Linked DNA regions of Homo sapiens: regions 1 and 3 are each linked to region 2. Evidence: promoter capture Hi-C in human tissues and cell types (Jung and others, 2019). All regions are on one chromosome and are shown on one strand. Each heading gives the region's core, a stretch centred on a gene start or on the middle of the fragment in contact. The rest is flanking DNA. Distances are from core to core; before and after follow the strand shown.

Evidence for each region. Contacts are between HindIII fragments. The study calls those that stand out against the background at their distance.
Region 1: a contact is called between a fragment that was not itself captured here and the fragment with the promoter of MATN2 in region 2, in 1 of the 25 tissues and cell types used here (H1 embryonic stem cells).
Region 3: a fragment that was not itself captured here is called in contact with the fragment with the promoter of MATN2 in region 2 in 1 of the 25 tissues and cell types used here (spleen).

The regions. Positions count from the first base shown.
Region 1 is chr8:97,603,820-97,608,537 of GRCh38, forward strand. No RefSeq gene overlaps it. Among named protein-coding and RNA genes, the nearest start is that of MTDH, 38 kb to the right of the region's middle. The HindIII fragment of the contact is 3,024 bases long and covers 1,896-4,718 here.
Region 2 is chr8:97,867,284-97,872,064 of GRCh38, forward strand. It overlaps MATN2 (matrilin 2), which reads left to right and starts at 1,781. Exons shown (of 19, transcript NM_002380.5): 1 at 1,781-2,004. RefSeq lists an enhancer at 882-1,381. The HindIII fragment of the contact is 19,586 bases long and covers 1-4,781 here.
Region 3 is chr8:97,545,735-97,550,577 of GRCh38, forward strand. No RefSeq gene overlaps it. Among named protein-coding and RNA genes, the nearest start is that of MTDH, 96 kb to the right of the region's middle. The HindIII fragment of the contact is 5,626 bases long and covers 1-4,843 here.

The sequences.
Region 1 (4,718 bases), core at 2,158-4,657, 260 kb before region 2:
TTCAGCTAGAAAATGAAGAATGAGTGACAGAATTAGAATGTCACCATTCTGCAATCCCTAATGAATTAATGGACCTAGGCATTAACCGTCAATGGCTGCTAGTATCACAGAGAGACAATCACACCTATGGATGGAAGGACTATATAACCTATGAAGTGGTCTCGCTGAAAACTCAAACTTGAAGCTGACAAAGCTTCAAGATCTAACTACCAGGTCACAAGAACCTTAGGAGACAAAGGAACATGCTACACACTATGGGGGTGCAATTAGCAAAATCCACATGACAATGTCATGACATGACAATCTTCGACAATTAAATTGCAAGGGGAAAAAACAAAGAAAGGGTGAGAACAATTATGGATTAAGCCAGACTTAGGAGACACATCAACAATCACAATGTGTGGACATTAATTGCATCCTGAGTCAAACAAGTAAATCAGTTTTTTAAATTATGATCTTTGAGACAATTAGAAACTTGAACAGTGGCTTTAAAAAAAATTTTACCTCTCCCTCTCCCGCTCCCGCTCCCGCTCCCGCTCCCGCTCCCTCTCCCTCTCCCTCTCCAGGGTCTCCCTCTGATGCCGAGCCGAGGCTGGACTGTACTGCCGCCATCTCGGCTCACTGCAGCCTCCCTGCCTGATTCTCCTGCCTCAGCCTGCCCAGTGCCTGGGATTGCAGGCGCGCGCCGCCATGCCTGACTGGTTTTTGTATTTTTTGGTGGAGACAGGGTTTCGCCGTGTTGGCCGGGCTGGTCTCCAGCTCCTGACTGCGAGTGATCTGCCCGCCTCGGCCTCCCGAGGTGCCGGGATTGCAGACGGAGTGTCGCTCACTCAGTGCTCAATGTTGCCCAGGCTGGAGTGCAGTGGCGTGATCTCGGCTCGCTACAACCTCCACCTCCCAGCCGCCTGCCTTGGCTTCCCAAAGTGCCGAAATTGCAGCCTCTGCCCGGCCACCACCCCGTCTGGGAAGTGAGGAGCATCTCTGCCTGGCCGCCCATCGTCTGGGATGTGAGGAGCCCCTCTGCCTGGCCGCCCAGTCTGGGAAGTGAGGAGCGCTTCTTCCCGGCCACCATCCCGTCTAGGAAGTGAGGAGCATCTCTGCCTGGCAGCCCATCGTCTGGGATGTGAGGAGCCCCTCTGCCCGGCCGCCCAGTCTGGGAAGTGAGGAGCGCCTCTTCCCGGCCGCCATCCCGTCTAGGAAGTGAGGAGCGTCTCTGCCCGACCGCCCATCGTCTGAGATGTGAGAAGCGCCTCTGCCCGGCCGCGACCCCCTCTGGGAACTGAGGAGTGTCTCTGCCCGACCGCCACCCCGTCTGGGAGGTGAGGAGCGTCTCTGCCCAGCAGCCGCCCCGTCTGGGAAGTGAGGAGCGTCTCCACCCGGCAGCCACCCGGTCCAGAAGGTAGGGGGCAGCCCCCGCCCGGCCAGCTGCCCCGTCCGGGAGGGAGGTGGGAGGCAGCCCCCTCCCCACCAGCCGCCCCGTCTGGGAGGTGGGGGGCGCCTCTGCCCGGCCGCCCCATCTGGGAAGTGAGGAGCCTCTCTGCCCGGCCGCCACCCCGTCTGGGAGGTGTACCCAACAGCTCATTGAGAACGGGCCATGATGACGATGGCGGTTTTGTCGAATAGAAAAGAGGGAAATGTGGGGAAAAGAAAGAGAGATCAGATTGTTACTGTGTCTGTGTAGAAAGAAGTAGACATGGGAGACTCCATTTTGTTCTGTACTAAGAAAAACTCTTCTGCCTTGGAAAAAAAAAAAAGATTTTAATTTTTTTTCTTGAGACAGGGTCTGTCTCTGTCGCCCAGGCCAAAGTGCAATGGCGAGACCTCGGCTTACTGCAACCTCCACATCCCAGACTCAAGTGATCCTCCCAACTCAGCCTCCCGAGTAGCTGGGAACAGAGGTGCGCATCACCACTCCCGGCTAATTTTTTTTGTATTTTTGTTAGAGACAGGGTTTCATCATGTTGCCCAGGCTGGTGTCAAACTCCTGAGCTCAAGCAATCTGTCCACAGTGGCCTCCCAAAGTGCTGGGATTACAGGTGTGAGCCACGGTGGTGGCCTTTAGGAATTTTTATTAATGTTAATATGTGATAATGGCATTATGGTTATTTTACAACATGAGGCTTTTTTATCTCTCAAAAACATATACTAGGGCTGGGCGCAGTGGCTCACGCTTGTAATCCCAGCACTTTGGGAGGCCGAGGCGGGTGGATTGCTTGTGGTCAGGAGTTCGAGACCAGCCTGACCAACATAGTGAAACCCTGTCTCTACTAAAAGTACAAAAATTAGCCAGGCATGGTGGCAGGCACCTGTAATCTCAGCTACTCAGGAGGCTGAGGCAGGAGGCAGAGGTTGCAGTGAGCCAAGAGCGGCGCCATTGCACTCCAGCCTGGGTGACAGAGTGAGACTCCATCTCAAAAAAATAAATTTTATATATATATATATATATATATACTGAAATATTTATGAGTAAAATTATATGAAATCTGAAATTTGCTTCAAATGGGTAAAGAGTGAGAAATAAGATGAAATAAGATGGTTCATGAACTAATAATCATTGAAGCTGGAAGACCAGTACATGGCAGTTTATTGTACTTTTCTCTTTACTTTTATATACATTAGAAACTTCCCTTAATTTTTAAAAATCTATATTGCAGATTAAAAAACAGCTACAATTTATTGAACAATTAACATAAATCATCATTTTTTTATCTTCACAACACAGTAGTACCTACTGTGAGGTAGGTACTATTACCATAATCTCCATTTTAGAGGTAAGGAAACTGAGGCTTGGAGAGGTTAATTAATGTATCAAAGATCATGTAGCAAAAGACTCAAATCCACATACTAAGTAACCATTGTCTCATAAGTGGGTTTTCTGGAGACTGCATAATGATGCCAAGCCATGTGTCTAGGTTTGCATGAAATGAGAACAGAAGGTGTCCTTGGGGACAGCTGGCATCTGGGTTTCAGCCATTCAAAAACTTTGGCTGGGCATGGTGGCTCACGCCTGTAATCCCAGCACTTTGGGAGGCCGAGGCGGGCAGATCACCTGAGGTCAGGAGTTCGTGACCAGCCTGACCAACATGGTGAAACCCTATTTTTACTAAAAATACAAAAAATATTAGCCGGGCATGGTGGTGCATGCCTTAATCCCAGCTACTCGGGAGGCTGACACAGGAGAATTGCTTGAGGCCGGGAGGTAGAGGTTGCAGTGAGCCAAGATCGCGCCACTGCACTCCAGCCTGGGCAGTGGACAGAGCGAAACTCTGTCTCAAAACAATAAAAATTAAAAAAAACTCTCCAAAATACATAACAAAAATAATTGGGAAAACAATAGCATGTCCAAGCCATGCCAAGGAAAATGTATCACTACTTCTATTCATAGTAAAAAGCCTATTTCAACACTTTACCAAAAAAAGTATTACTGAGCCTTTCAAGGAATGAAAAAGCAGGCAATATACTTGGAGACAGGCAAAAAGACATATGGTCCTCAAGGGAATATGAGTTTGAATGGAAAAATTTGAACAATGGAGAACAGCTTGCCTCTTACTTCCCCTGATGTATGAAGTTTGGTCCATTTCCAATAGCAATCAGAAGCTTCTGGCAGTGGCCCAGCTGGCCTGCCTGTAAGACCATCTGGGAGAAAGGGAAGTGTCCACCACACACTGGTCAGGCTGACACCAGCACTGAACTGTTTGTTCATTTCTGCAGTACCTGCGGAGCTACTATATAAGGCTGGAGTAGTGACATCAACTTCAAATCATCCACGACTCCAAATAAATTAACTTGTCTGATCAAGATATTAAAGGGGACTTTTGGCCAGCCACCGTGGCTCACACCTGTAATCCCAGCATTTTGGAAGGCCGAGGCAGGAGGATTGCTTAAGCCCATGAATTGGAGACCAGCCTGGGCAACATAGCAAGACCTTGTCTCAATTATTAAAAAAAAAAAAAAAAAACTAAAAGGGTCATGCAACGTGGCTCATGCCTGTAATCCCAGCACTTTGGGAGGCCAAGGCAGAAGGATTACTTGAGCCCAAGAGTTCTGGATCAGCCCAGGCATATAGGCAGATCTCCTCTCTACAAAAATACAAAAACTAGGTGTGGTGGCACACACCTGTAGTCCCAGCTACTCAGGAAGCCGAGGTGGGAGGATGACTTGAGCCTGAGAGGTCTAGCCTGAGTGAGCCATGCAGGCCACTGCACTTCAGCCAGGGTGACACAGTTAGACCCTGTCTCCAAAAAAAAAAAAGAAAAGAAAAGAAAAATATAAATAAATAAAGGAGACTTTTCAGAAACGTAATGAATCAAGCTTAGAATAACTTATTACCAAGTTTTTAAAAAATTGGTCTGGAGTTCATCCCTGGTCTAATTAAGACCAATATTATCTTTTCTCCCGAATATAACTCAGGATAGCTATCTTCATTATTCTGCTTGCATCTAATGGCCGAGACATTAAGTCTCTGACTTTAATATATAGCTTTGAGGTTGAAAACTGTTATCTACCCAACACATTCTGTTGTGGGAGGAGATCACTTTTTATGTCATAAGAGATCAGACTAATTCTTTATTCTTTTCTTAGAAACAGAGATAAATATTCACAAGGATTCTTCAAACACCAGAGATAAAATACTGGATCATAAAAACATGATTTTTAAAAATTTTCTGCTAGATTCACAGGTGAAACAAGATGAATTTGAACCATATACAAACAGAGTT
Region 2 (4,781 bases), core at 531-3,030:
TTGGAAGGGTTTGGGGATTGTTATTGTTTTCCTGGTAAATTACTGGATCACACTGGTGTCTTGGAATAAGTCAACACATTTTAAATTTAAGTTTCCATAAACTGTAGCTCAACTTCCCAAGTTCCTAGGGGATTTTCACTGGCCCAGACTCAGGAAGAATTTTCTTCTATGGGATCCAAGACTTCAGAGACCAAACATTTCCTGAAGACTTTCCTCTGCTTTCTGACCTCCACCTACCTCCTCCCAAAGACATAACAAAAAAACTATTTGTGATCAGTGCAGGCAGCCAAGAGTGCCCAGTGGGCCTAAGGTACTGGGTAAAGGAACAGGAATCCACAATTCTTTCTTGGTATTAAGGTATCATTGACTTGCCTGATGGCTCGAGTATGTTAACCCCTTGCTTCATGGCTGGAATTTTAATTACCCCTCCTGGAGCTTTTCTGAAGAATTGATTTTGGCGTTTATTCATATTTCAGAAATCAACTCTATCATCAAATAGGAATGATGGTTAATTACAAAACAAAGTCCGCCCAAAGCACCAAATTATCAGACTGTGGCACATCCAGAGGTTTTGAAACTAGTTAGTGCTGCTGCCTCTGCTGGTAGCTTGTTAAAACCTGAACTGGGGCCGGGCGCAGTGGCTCACGCCTGTAATCCCAGCACTTTGGGAGGCCGAGGCGGGCGGATCACGAGGTCAGGAGATCGACACCATCCTGGCTAACACGGTGAAACCCCGTCTCTACTGAAAATACAAAAAAAATTAGCCGGCCGTGGTGGCGGGAGCCTGTAGTCCCAGCTACTCTGAGGCAGGAGAATGGCGTGAATCCGGGAGGCAGAGCTTGCAGTAAGCCAAGATTGCGCCACTGCACTCCAGCCTGGGCGACTCCGTCTCAAAAAACAAACAAACAAACAAAAACACAAAACCTGAACTGGGTGCGTTGGCTAGTGGTTTGGGAACAGAATTTTGGAGCTTTATAGGAGATGTCCTGGTCTGTTATACATCCACTCACCCCAGCCTCCAGGAACTGGGGAGCTGGTAGAGGGGGGTGCCGGCCACTTTGACTGTCGCTGGCCAATCCTGTCTTCTGCATCCCTCCAAGGCTCCATGGGGACATCCAAGGTGAGGTTCCTCCATTCTGCAAAGTTGCAAATGTCTCTGCTCATAATTTCAAAAGTCTTGTCTGAACTAGACTTTCCCTGCTCCCTCGGGGTAGGAATTTTGTCTCCTCTCCATCCTGGCATCTTTACCTCCTCCCCATCCCGGGGCCTGGTCCCCAGCCAGTGGACGCTCTGTTAATATGAACTGGCACTGGTGGGGTGCTCTGGGCACTGGCAAGACAGCTCTTGGCGCTTGTCATCAATTAGCCCAATTCTCACCACTTTTTTCTCCATCCCCGCGTCAGTGGGTGCGTCCCGCAGGTCATGACCCCAAGTTCTAGATGTAAGATTCCTGCCATGTCTCCTTTCCCCCAGAAGACCCCTCCCCGCACTCCCAACCCGACAGGCCCCTAAAGCTGCCTGTGTTCCGTGCCTGCGGCTCCGGACCCCTGGAGTCTGATGCCCGCCTGGGCTCAGGCACGGACGGAGTGGAGCCAGGTGGCAGCAGGCAGGGCGCGCCGCCAGAGTGCCCAGCTCCCGGGGCTGCCCACAGGGTGGGGCCGCCCTCGCCGCCGCTCCCTCTCCGCGCCTTCCCCATCCCCAAAGAGGACACCCCTCCTTCCGCCCGGCCCGCTCCCCACCCCCGCCGCGGCACCGCCTCCCCAGCCGCCCGCCCTTGCCCAGCGCCTCCCAGGCAGCCAGCGAGCGAAGGGAGCGCTCTGGGATGGGACTTGGAGCAAGCGGCGGCGGCGGAGACAGAGGCAGAGGCAGAAGCTGGGGCTCCGTCCTCGCCTCCCACGAGCGATCCCCGAGGAGAGCCGCGGCCCTCGGCGAGGCGAAGAGGCCGACGAGGAAGACCCGGGTGGCTGCGCCCCTGCCTCGCTTCCCAGGCGCCGGCGGCTGCAGGTGAGCGCGGCGCGCTTTCCCCCGGCTCTGCGCGGCCGGGCGGCCTCGAAGTGCAGGCGGACCGACCCACCGACAGAATACCGAGCCTGGGCTGCCCGACGCGCAGGCGCCCTCCCCAGGCCCGCACTGCAGCCCCCAGCGCCCCGGGGCCCCGGCGCCTTCGACCCCTCCGAGGACAGGGGGAGAGGGAGGGCGGCGCTGCCCGACCCCTCGGCCGGGAGAGCTGGGCGCGCTCCCTGCGCAGGACAAGCCGCGCTGCAGCCGCCCCGGAGTGCCCCGTGGGGGCGCTGTGGCACGCAGCGGGGACGCCCAGACCCCGGCCACCGCGACCCAGGGAAAGGGAGACCTGTTGAGCGGGTATGCAGGGTGATTCCTATTCCACGGACAGCCGATGGCTCCCCCTTCCCTCTTCGGAACCTGGTATTTTCATGCCCGTGTCATCTGGATTTTGTTCTTGGGTCTCTATGGCAGCTAAACCTCCAGCTTCCCTATATTGTGGAAGAGGGAGAGAAAGGGGAAGGCATTTTGTGGTAGTTGCTAGAAACCCCAGAACAATTTGGAGCCGTTTGGGGAGAGGACAGAGAAATGGGGACTGTCCCTGGTAGGGTCTCCAGGACTGGGGGCACAGGAAAGTGCTCTCCTCAGGGACACTCGCGCCCACCCTGAACAAACCCAATTGACCAAGTTTCAATTTGTCATAAATCAGGAAGCCACAATGCATCTGCACCAAGCACACTTAAAATCGGCCTTTAAGGAATGGGGCAGTCAAGAGACTTCAGGGACCCGTGGTCGAGAGCAGAGACTGGGGTCAGCCTGCTTGGGTTTCAACCCCAGCTGTGAAGTTTACAGGGTTGATAACTTGAAGGTACCCAAGTATGCCTCAGTTTCCTCATCTGTCTAATGAGGATGGTAATACCCACAGAACTGTGAGGATTAAATGAGATATGGCGGCCGGGCACGGTGGCTCAGGGCTGTCATCCCAGCACTTTGGGAAGCCGGGGCGGGCGGATCACCTGAGGTCGGGAGTTCGAGACCAGCCTGACCAACATGGAGAAACCCCGTCTCTACTAAAAATACAAAATTAGCCGGACTTGGTGGCGCATGCCTGTAATCCCAGCTACTCGGGAGGTTGAGGCAGGAGAATCGGTTGAACCCAGGAGGCAGAGATTGCAGTGAGCGGAGATGGTGCCATTGCACTCCAGCCTGGGCAACAAGAGCTAAACTCCGTCTCAAAAGAAAAAAAAAAAGATATGGCAAGTAAAGTCCTTAGAACATTTCCAGGAGCATTCTAAGATTAGGTGAGTTCCATGGCTTGTCTTTGCAGAAATAGCAAGGAGCTGCTATGAGCAGTGAATGTACCTCTTCCCCAGTTCAGAAAGAGAGGCTCTCCATGGGTACGTGAGGGTGGCAGATAAGCCACGTGTATGCAACTGGTAGTTCCATGCAGGAGTCCACACGGGCGCAGTTCTCCCTGCTTGCTCCCAAAGGGCCAACCTCATAAAACCATGTCAAAATACCAACATGGGTTTATGACCTGGAATGTTTCCTCTCAGTCCCTGAAACTTGGCACTTAGAATCCTCTGTGGAGAATGAGATACTTATGGCTCTTCACCTTGCATTTTCCTATCTGTCCACACTTTTTACTTTTATTTCTGCCAATAGAATTCAATCTCAGGCCCCCGAGTTACCAGGACACTGTCTTCTATAAATCGGGGCTCTGGGGTTTCTTGTTCCCAGGCAACCCAGGGCCACCAAGGCCTAAGCTTGCTTGTTGGAGGTGTCAGAGCAGAGTCCAAATCTGAAACACCCTCGAGCAGCTGTCATGCCCTAAGCTCTTATCAGCGAGTGCCATATGTCCTTGTTTAGCAAAAGGTAGTTAAAAGTGTGGCCTGAGATTTAAAGAAAAGGAGAGATGTTTGCTCTTTGAAATAAGAGAGCCATTGGAGGTTCTGGAAAAATAATTCTACAGTTTATTTAGAAACAGTTCTGACTGGCACCTAAGAGAGGGCAAGGAGTGAGGTGGGGAGACTAAAAGGGGGAGAGACCGGCTTAGGCCTCAGGAAAAGCAGGCCGAAGAGGGTGTGACAGGTCTAACGCTGGCCTGAGCAAGGTGTTGGGTATGAGGCTGGGCAAGCAGTAGGAGAGGTGAGTGGTTTAAGACCAGTCAAGTTGGCAGAGAGCCTCTAGTGCTGCCCCTGGCACTCACTGCCCTCTGATCTGTAGCACCTGCAGGAGCGTCCCTTCCAGGGATTCCCCGTCTTCTAGGGAAGCTATGGAGGACTCCCCTGTTTAAAGCATATGGCAAGATAACTCAGGAGGGCCAGGGAAAGAGGGAGGCTGAGCATATGCCAAGGGGAGAATGGGGAATGTCATTGCTGTTGCTAGTGAATGGTGCCAGGGAGGTCCTTCCAAGGGGCCACTTGCCACTTGGAGCTTCAGCCCATGAGGCCATCCTTGAACCCTGCCATGTGGCTCGGCAGACAGCCAATACTGCCTGAAGGGGGCTCAGATGGAATGGCAGGGCTGGGCTGTTGCCAGTAATTGGTGTTAATGACTATGACAGTGGCTTTGACATGGATGAGATGGAGTTGGGGTACAACCCAAAGCACACTGCTCTTGGCACCCGAAAGACCTGGGTTGCAGTTCTAGCCCCTCATACCTGCAAAGATTTTGGAAAGTTACTTAGACTCTCTGTGCCTGACATCTGTTTCTTCATCTGTAAATGAAGACTGGATTTTTTGGGAGAATTAAATTAGTTAACAGGTGTTCAGTGCCTA
Region 3 (4,843 bases), core at 1,084-3,583, 320 kb before region 2:
AAAACAAACATCCCCATCAACAATTGGGCGAAGGATATGAACAGACACTTCTCAAAAGAACACATTTATGCAGCCAACAGACACATGAAAAAATGCTCATCATCACTGGCCATCAGAGAAATGCAAATCAAAACCACAATGAGATACCATCTCACACCAGTTAGAATGGCAATCATTAAAAAGTCAGGGAACAACAGGTGCTGGAGAGGATGTGGAGAAACAGGAACACTTTTACACTGTTGATGGGACTGTAAACTAGTTCAACCATTGTGGAAGACAGTGTGGCGATTCCTCAAGGATCTAGAACTAGAAATACCATTTGACCCAGCCATCCCATTACTGGGTATATACCCAAAGGATTATAAATCATGCTGCTATCAAGACACATGCACATGTATGTTTATTGCGGCACTATTCACAATAGCAAAGACTTGGAACCAACCCATATGTCCATCAATGATAGACTGGATTAAGAAAATGTGGCACGGCTGGGCGCGGTGGCTCACGCCTGTAATCCCAGCACTTTGGGAGGCCGAGGCGGGCGGATCACAAGTTCAGGAGATCAAGACCATCCTGGCTAACACGGTGAAACCCCGTCTCTACTAAAAATACAAAAAATTAGCCGAGCATGGTGGCAGGCGCCAGTAGTCCCAGCTACTCAGGAGGCTGAGACAGGAGAACGGCGTGAACCTGGGAGGCGAAGTTTGCAGTGAGCCAAGATCGGGCCACTGCACACCAGTCTGGGCGATAGAGCGAGGCTCCGTCTCAAAAAAAAAAAAAAAGAAAAGAAAAGAAAATGTGGCACATATACATCATGGAATACTATGCAGCCATAAGAAAGGATGAGTTCATGTCCTTTTTAAGGACATGGATGAAGCTGGAAACCATCATTCTCAGCAAACTATTGCAAGGACAGAAAACCAAACACCGCATGTTCTCACTCATAGGTGGGAATTGAACAATGAGAACACATGGACACAGGATGGGGAACATCACACACTGGAGACTGTTGTCGGGTGGGGGGAGGGTGGAGGGATAGCATTAGGAGATATACCTAATGTAAATGACGAGTTAATGGGTGCAGCACACCAACATGGCACATGTATACATATGTAACAAACCTGCATGTTGTGCACACGTACCCTAAAACTTAAAGTATAATAAAAAAATTAGAAAAAAAAAAAAGATAGTGGCTTTTCTGTCCGCCTGGGTTCCTGAGTGATTACAATTGAGGTAGGAGGCAGGACTCAACTCCAGACCAGATTAAAGACTGACTGAAACATGGAAGTGGCGCTGAAAGCACCTCTCCATAAGATGTGCCCACCAGCACCATGACAGTTTACAATTGCCATGGCAATACACAGAAGTTACCACCTCTTCCCATGGCAACTAGCAGGAAGTTTTCACCCTTTCTCTAGAAATTTCTGAATAACCCACTGCTTAATTGCATATGATTAAAAGTTGGTATAAATATGACTGCAGAACTTCCCTGAGTTGCTGCTCGCAGCACACTGCCTATGAGGTAGTCCTGCTCTGCAGGAGCAGTGACCAAGCTATAACACCACCTCCTCAATAAAGCTGTTTTCTTCTACCACCAGCTTGCTCTTGCATTCTTTCCTGAGCAAAGCCAAGAACTGTCCTGGGCTAAGCCCCAGTGTTAGGGCTCACCTGCCCTGCACTGCAGTGAGCAGAGCCTTCCTGCTGAATGACAGTGGATTTGTAATGGGAGTAAGAATTAAGACTTTGTTGTCTTAGCCACTTTGATTTGCAGGGGCTTTCTTATTACTGCATAAAAGCTGCAGGCTATCTTGACTGATAGAGCAGGAGACCAGCATGATGAGATTTATATTTTTAAAAGATAATTGAGACAATATGGAGGATGGATTAGAAGTAGTAGAGGAAGTTAATTACAGGCACAAAACCAATACAGAGATATTGCAATACTCCAGGAAAGAGATAATAAAGGCCTAAAATAAGAGCAATAACAGTGGAAGTGAAGAAAATGAGTTATATTTAAGAAATATTTACATTGCAATATCAACAATATTACATTGCAATATCAAAGAATATAGTGATTATCAAAATGTGCTATATAGATTTTTTTTCACCTATTCCTATGTAAAAATTACCCCAAAACTTATTGACTTAAAACAATGATAAAAGACATTATCTCACAGTTTCTGTGGGTCAGAAAGTTCAAGAACAGCTTAGCTGGTGGTCCTGGCTCAGGATTTCTCATGAGGTTGCAGTCAAGATTTTGGCCAGGGCTGCAGTCATCTGAAGGTTTGACTGGGGCTGGAGGATCCACTTCCAAAATGGTTCACTTCTATAGCTGGGAAGTTGATGCTAACTGTTAGCAAGAGGCTTCCGTTTCTTATCATATGGACCTTTCCATGAGGCTGCTTGAATGTCCTCATGATGTGGCAGCTGGCTTTACCCAGAGTGAGTGACCCAAAAGAGAATATGGTACAGTGGCAATTTCTCTTATGGCCTAGCCTTAGAAGTCACACACCACGACTGCTTGTATATTCTTTGGCCATAGTGACCAAACATGATGCACTGTAGGAAGGGCCCCTAAAAAGAGGTGAATATAGGAGGTAAGGATCATGAAGGGCCAGCTTGAAGCCTGACTACCACAATGAACAAGATGGAAATAAAGAAGCTGACTGACTCTGAGACTTCTAGCTTAAATGATTCAATGGTCAGATTAAGCAAGATACAGAAAGGAGGTGGGGGGACCAGTTTGGGAAGGGAGAAAGCAGATCATTAGTTCTATTTTGGAACTGACATGGGGAGGAGCCTCGAAGACACGCAAACAGAGATGCCTAATTGTTAAATAAGCAGCTACTAAGAGAGGGCTGATAACTTAGGAATGAATACTATCTGAGTGGTGGGAGGAGCAAAGGCAGAAAATAATATGGCCCAGGAAGTATATACAGAAAAAAGAGGGAAGAAACTAAACAAAACACCAGGAATGGATCCTTATGAAGAGATTCTTATATTTTTAAGGGAAGGGGGAAAGAGGAAAAGTCAGTAAATGGCACAGGGCAGCAGGACTCAGGGAAGGAATCAGAGAATGGGTGTTGTCTGGATCGGGAGGCTATGGTGGACAGTTCTGTGAGTTTCAGCAGCAATGCCACATGACATAAAGCAGTCAAGCAATGTGAAAACTGAGACAAGCCCACTGGATTTCAGAGATACAGTGCGTGGCCATATGGTAAGTATCTCAGTGGAGGTGGGATGGTATTGCTCACCTAAATGCATAATTTCACCATTGAAAGATTAAACTCTTCCTCTCATGCAATAGAGGTGGCTTCCCTCATAACAGGCCCACAGTATAACACCTTGAGGACAGAACAACCACAGCCCACCCATGATGTAAGAACTAGTCCACACAGCAATGGAAAACTCCTTTCATCATGGGTCTGTCATGAGCATATCTATTGTGAATGGAGCATGAATGGGTCAGAGAAAGAACAATTTCTTCTTCCCAAACAACTTTGCCTTCATGAAAAGCTTAGGTTATTGATGAATTTCTTAGGGCAACCATATTGCTTGGTAGCTACTCTATGGATCTAGGGTTATAGGATAGGAAGTCCCAAACCCAGAATCGCAGGATTTGAAAATCGTAAGAAGAGATAATCTTGATGAATCTTCTTATTTTAAAGATAAAAGAAGACCTAGTAAGATTAAGCTATTTGGTCAAGGTAATTTTTTTTTTTTTTTTGCTATGATTGGGTCCTAGCTTTCTGGCTGACTGCTTCTCATCCAGAACCCTTTTAACTCATTCACATTTCTTCACATTATTTTACACACACATACACACACACACACACGTGCACATAGATATAAATCTGATATGAGGAGAAACTGATGTTCAGTAGTTTAATAGGCATCTCCAATTTAACATAGCTAAAACAGATCTCTTGATGTTGTTCCTGAAAATAGATCTCTACCCACCTCCCCCATAACTATAAAGGGTACTCTCACCCATACCCCAGAAACCTTTCTTGATGGCGCTCTCTCTCACCATCGTAGCATTTACCAATATCTGACGTTGTTTTAGATTTTTATCTGCTTATTATCGTTCCATTGAAATTTAAGCTCCATGGTGGCATTTTGTTCAGAGAAAACTCTTCACTGCTTTAAAAGTCCCTGGCACATAGTAGGCGCCCAAAAAATATATGTTGAATGAATCCATTGGTATTAAATCCTGTGGTCAGGAAACACTTATGGCAACATCATTTTTAGCTAAATGGGAACTTAATGTAGGGACTTACCAGAAACTGAAAGCAGAAATGTCACAGTCATTGCTATAGGCCATGTAGTTGCCTTCGATTTTAAAAACAATGAGGCCGGGTACAGTGGCTCACACCTGTAATCCCAGCACTTTGGGAGGCTGAGGCAAGTGGATCAATTGAGGTCAGGGGTTCAAAACCAGCCTGGCCAACATAGTGAAACCTGGTCTTTACTAAAAATACAAAAATCACCTGGGCATAATGGCACACACCTGCAATCCCGCTACTTGGGAGGCTGAGGCAGAGAATTGCTTGAACCCAGGAGGTGGAGGTTGCAGTGAGCCAAAATCACGCCACTGCACACCAGCCTGGGTGACAGAGTGAGAGTCCATCTAAAATAAATTTAAAAAGACAATGACAGTCACAGTACCTCTGAAATCTTTGTATAGGATCAAATACCAGCCTATTAATATGCTCAGGAGCAAGTGACCCTGATACGACAGGAGGTAATATGGCAAAATCAAAACTTACTACTACTCTAAATTAATGACTTTGGCCATATCATTGTCAATATCCACTGAGCCTCCCTCACTTCTAGATATCCT